2 separate regions of the Homo sapiens genome follow, and region 1 is linked to region 2. The links are contacts of gene promoters, found by promoter capture Hi-C in blood cells and fetal thymus (Javierre and others, 2016). All regions are on one chromosome and are shown on one strand. The core of a region is centred on a gene start or on the middle of the fragment in contact, and the rest is flanking DNA. Distances in the headings are between cores, read along the strand shown. Region 1 overlaps GNA14 (G protein subunit alpha 14). Region 2 holds the start of PSAT1 (phosphoserine aminotransferase 1).

Region 1 (2,718 bases), core at 33-2,532, 840 kb after region 2:
GGAATCGGCTGGAGTCTGAGCAGTTTTATCCTGTGAGAAAATGGATCCCCAGTTGCCATTGAACTATATGTATTTGGCAAGTAGTGTATCGTAAAGCTGCTCTTTGGAAACTCATAATAAAACTAGCATATCAAAAGCTCTGTGCTGTGTTCGGGCCTCCCCACTCCATGTTGCTGTATTTGTTGTGGTGGCTGCAGGCTTATGATTGCTCAGGTTTGCTCAGTTCCATAAATTCTCACTAAATGCTGCATTTGTTGAAGGAATCCTGTTGTAGCTTCAGGGCTGTTCTTGCTGTTGTTTTTAAGCCATACACATGTGGATTATCTTTCTAAGTGACTGAATGGTTAAGAGTTTGGTGCGCATAGTTACACATTTTCATGAACTGTTGCATTTTGTTAATGCATATTGCTCCTTGACTTCATTGTATTTTGTCAGTATTTATTGAATGTAAAGATTTTCAGGTAAGATTCATTTATTCATTCAAAGAATATTGATGTGCGAACCACCATTCTAGGCACGTGGGAGTACATTAATGAAGAAAAGAGACTAATATCTGTCTTAGTCTATTCAGGCTGCTATAACAGAATACCTTAGGCTGGGTAATTTATAAAGAGTAGCGTTTACTGCTCACAGTTCTGGGGATTGGGAAGTCTGCAGAAGTCTAAGATGAAGGCACTAGCAGATGTGCTGTCTGGTGAGAGTCTGCTCCTCAGAGATGGCATCTTCTTGGTGTCTTCGCATGGCGGAAGGGACACACAAGCTCCCTCAGGCCTCTTTTTATTTTTATTTTTTATTTTTTCAGGAACAGGGTCTTGCTCTGTCACCCAGGCTAGAGTGCAGTGGTGCAATCATGGCTCACTGTAACCTCGAACTCTTGGGCTGACGCCATCCTCCTGCCTCAGCCTCTCAAGTAGCTGGGACTGCAGGTACACACACCACCCGGCTGGTTACTTGTTTGTTTATTTGTTTTTAGGGATGAGGGAATGTCGCTATGTTGTCCAGGCTGGTCTTGAACTCCTGGCGTCAAGCAGTCCTCCTGCCTCAGCCTCCTGTGTCCTTGGGCTTACAGGCATGAACCAATGTGCCCAGCTCAGACCTCTTTTAAAAGGGCACAAAGTCATTCATGAGGACTCCACCTTCATGACCTAGTCCCCACTCAGAAGCCCCACTCCTTAATACCTCCACGTTGGGGATGAGAGTTCAACGTATGGATTTTGGAGAGACACAAACTTTCAGACCACAGCAGATCCCTGCCCTAAGGGGTACATGTACCACACAGACACACACACAAACACAAACACACACACCGCACACATATACATACACACACATACACATACACACCACACACACACATACACATGCACATACACACACACACACACACACACTTGTGTGCAGTTCTGCAGTTAACTAGAAAACTTGGGTAACTTTTTCAGACTTTGTCCTAAACTAATTTGATCAAGGAACTTTTTTTTAAGGATATGTACCACGTTTTGTAGAGTAGTGTTTTGTTTAATGTACCACTCTGGAAAATGCTTATAAAGGCATCGCTGGACTGAATGTACTTCAGGAAAATCATCCATAGATACCATTTGTTTCAAAATTTGGTAAGAGTTAGGCGGCAGAGAGACTAAATTCTCCACCAAGATCTGGAGTGCAGATATTCTTTGTTGCTACTTAAAGGCAAATCTGTCTGCCTCACACGTCACATGAGTAGGGGTGACTTTGGTGAATCCTAAGGCTGTACTGGAGCTTGTCACTTGGCTACACGTCTATCTCAGACCTGCTGACAGGACCAGTGTATTTCTACGGGGTTCTGGATCAAGCAGTCCAGCCTCTTACTGGATCGTGTCTCTCAAGTCAGCCTCTGTGGAGTTATATCCGCTTCCCCTGGGATGCGGTGTGAGACCAGCACATAGTGAGCATGGACATCACTAGATTGAGTGAAATGTTCCTGGGCTGTGGGGACTTCACGAGACCACATCTAATTTTTGCACAAATATCTGTCACTCACCACCTACCTGTGCTCGTCTGGTTGCTCGGTTGGGATTTTTTGACAGGAAATAGGAGACTTGGTTAAATGTCTGTGTAACTTTGAGATGCTTGAGGAGAGAGACACTTTGCACTGACCCCAACAGGTTTCCTTATGCACCTGATTACAACAAAGAATCTCGGGTTCTTGCTTGGGAGAGTGGCTGAGCAGCTTTGCTGCACGTTGGCTTGTCCACCCAAGCTGGAAAAACCTGTGGTCCAGAGTCCCAGGGTGACTAATGAACATGTGTGTGACAAGGGAGAAAAAAGTTTGGGGCAATATTATCTTTTGGGGATAACTGCCTTTGAGGCTGTCTTCCTGGTTATTTTGAGGATGTGTGATTCACAGAAGAGAGACGGACCTACACATTGGTCATCCTCAAGATTTTCAGGGCCATCCTAGAATAGCCTCACCCTGGATCCCAGGAACAGACCTCTTTATCAATAGTGGCATTCCTTTACATCCTCAGCTAAGTATAGTTACAATGATTGCTTTAGAGCACTCTAAAAAGAGTGACTACAGTGGCTGTGTTTGCCTTTATACTTTGAAAAAAGAATGTCCACAACAACAAATATTTATGAAGCTTTATAATTAAAAAATACGTTCTTTAGCTAGAGACTGCTAATGTTGAAAAGACCACCCCCACCTCCCCTCCTCATTTTACCAATGAGGAAACTGAGGGC
Region 2 (2,700 bases), core at 28-2,527:
TTACCACAACACAGAGGAGGCTCTGTCCCAGGGAGATTTCTACTCTGCTCAACAATTGATAATTGTAAAATACTTGGCTATGCCTCATGCTGCTCCAACATATTATCAGCTCTATCCTGGTTAGAAAAATAAAAATCTAACGGCGGCGGCAGCCGCCTGACAATGGGCTCAAGGCACATCGGAGACTTTGCCTTCTTCACTGCGGGTGGGGCTGGGGACGGTGGGTTTGGCGGGGGAGGGGAGGAGCCGGGCTGGGGCCTGGGAAGGCAGAGAGTGAGTTCCACCAGCAAGATCTGATTGTGGCCCGGGAGAGAATTCAATCACTCGGTTTACTCCAGAACGAAATGAACAGGGAATTGGGTTAAGCAGCCCAAAGTCTACCAGAGTTAGAATACTCGAACGCCTTTAGGGGACAAGCAGGTTAAAAAAAGGAGGGGGGTGGGGAGAAAGGCTTTAGGAAAGGGTAGGTTCTATGGGGGACAAGGAGGGGAAAGCTGGACTGAAGGTTTTCAAATTTACATTTCTGAAAAGCAGTGTTCCTAAGTGCTGGCTAAAGCAAACACTGGTGTAAGGCGTAGGGGGGCACGCACACGCGGACCTTTAAGTTTGCAATCCCTTTCAGCTAACGTGATCCACTGCATATGCAAAACCTGTCATCGGTTCATTCCCGTTCATCACTCATTCACACTATGTCCATTCATGCATCCGCTCCACACTGCCCGGGCTCGCCGCACAGCTGCGCGAGGCGAAGGCAGAGATCAGAGCTTTTTCTTTTTCGCCCCGCCCCAGCCCCCGGACCGGCCCAGGAGATGGCACAGCCCGGGCGTCTGCAGGTGCGTGGCACCGGCGGGACAGCAGGCCCCGGCCAGCTGAGTCGTGCACTGCCTCGCACCAGCAGTCAGGGCCAGGGGCAGCTGCACGGGCACGCCTCGCCGAGCTTCCTCACCAACTGCATTCTTCCCGAAGCCCGCTTGCCGGAGCTGCTGATCCCGCTGTGCACGCTGATGCAAAGCGCCTAGGGGACTCAAGGCAGGGAGCGGGAATCCGACTGCCACACGCAGGGATGCAAACCCACCCGCGTGCGTGCTCCCGCCTGAACCTCACTCCCGGCGCCCGCTCGCGGGGACTTACTGAGTGCGGCAGCTTGGCGGGACCAGGCCCAAAGTTGACCACCTGCCTGGGGGCGTCCATGGTGCGGCGGCCAGGGCGGTGAGTCAGCCAAGGAGGACCGAACGCGTGAACGGCTGGCGTTCCTGGCCGCTGCGGTGAGAGTCTGCAGCCGGCCCCGAACCCCCGCCTTGTTCCTGCGCCGAGTCGGCGCCCCATTGGCCCGTGCTGTCGCAGGCCCTGCGCTAATTGGTTCGCGCGAAGGAGCTCACATCCCCATTGGTCGCGCTTCTGAGCCGAGTCGAAGCAGTTGCTCCTCCTCGCGTTTACTGTTTCAACCCCCATTTTTGATCAATGCAAGGAGCGCGCGAGATTGCGCCAGCCAGCCGAGCCGGCTCGGCTGCGCGCCCGCCCGAGGATTGTGGGCGGCGGGAAGAGGCTGCCCCTGCCAACCTGCCTTCGCCCCTTGAGCCCGCAATCTGGCCGGTTCCAGTCCTCCAACCCCAGAGGACCTCAGCTCCTCTCTCTTGGCTGAAAGGGCAGTTGCCGAGCAGATTTGTAGCCCCCATCCACCCACCTCTCCACCACCAGCCCCCAGTTTGGGCTGTGATGTATTTGTTCCAGAACCACCAGTCACTAATCTACCAAACTTTTCTAAGCACCCCCCACGGGCGTCAGATACCCCAGTGGAGAGAGAGGACCCCCCCAAGGTTGGAAGCGCAGGATGAAGAAGGGCCGGGGGTGGGTGGATACGGTTCTTTGTATTTGCACGTGGGTCCTGAGTTCCTGCAGGATTAAAGAACGGAGGTGGCCAAGGACGCAGGGAGGAGCGATAGCCTGGGAAGCGTGGATGCCCGCCAGGCAAGTCCTTTAAAGTCGCTGATTCTCCATTTCCTCCTTTGGGAAACGAGTGAGCTGGAAACCTGCGACAGCTCTCAGGTTGCGCCCGCGCTGACAAGCTGTGAGTTTAGAAACGTGAGGAGATATTAACAAGAACGCGATACCCATAGGGCGCTGCAGCCCAAACCAGAAGAAGGTGGCCCCTAGCCAGGCCAGGCGCAGGGCCAGAGCTGCTCAAACTTTTCCACAGAAGTGTCCTTCTCAAAAGAACTCCAGTGGAGACCCGCATGGGGTTCTGAAACAGAATACCCTCCCCCTACCCTGCAAGAAAGAAGTTCCTTTGAAGTCTGGAATTTCATCATTTTTAAACTGTGAATTTTGCATTCTCTACCATAATTTAACCTAGTTTCTTTTAATGTAAAAATATTTTCCCTGTCTGAGTAAAATTGATGCGCCAGGAATATATACAGTCCAACTGCCCCGTTTAGAGAAGGCTTGTAACTGGACAGGACTTTGGCTTTTGTTTGCTTTTCCTAATGAGAATGTGGGCGGTATGGGGCTGAGAGCAGAGGCACTGCTCTGGATCTGGGAATTGGAGGACAAAGTTTCCAGAAAAAGGCAAAATGAACAAGGCCCCTGCGTTCCTCAGCAACTTCATTAAGAAAACCGCGACATTCAAGACAGAATAAATCTCAGCCCAGAAACTCAGGCATGCAAGAAGCATCACATATCCATTATTTTACGTAAATAACT

The links. The method cuts DNA at HindIII sites, captures the fragments that hold promoters and counts their contacts. A CHiCAGO score of 5 or more calls a contact.
Region 1: a fragment that was not itself captured here is called in contact with the fragment with the promoter of PSAT1 in region 2 in 1 of 17 cell types (naive CD4 T cells); the score reaches 5.4 in naive CD4 T cells.

What each region holds. Positions count from the first base shown.
Region 1 is chr9:77,451,223-77,453,940 of GRCh38, reverse strand. The region is part of intron 2 of GNA14 (G protein subunit alpha 14); the gene reads left to right. The region is part of intron 1 of GNA14-AS1 (GNA14 antisense RNA 1); the gene reads right to left. Among named protein-coding and RNA genes, the nearest start is that of GNA14-AS1, 4.9 kb to the right of the region's middle. The HindIII fragment of the contact is 2,676 bases long and covers 1-2,620 here.
Region 2 is chr9:78,295,702-78,298,401 of GRCh38, reverse strand. PSAT1 (phosphoserine aminotransferase 1) reads right to left here and starts at 1,277. Exons shown (of 9, transcript NM_058179.4): 1 at 1,132-1,277. The coding sequence starts at 1,191. RefSeq lists a silencer at 672-911 and enhancers at 864-1,447, 1,448-2,031, 1,922-2,191. The HindIII fragment of the contact is 4,911 bases long and covers 1-2,700 here.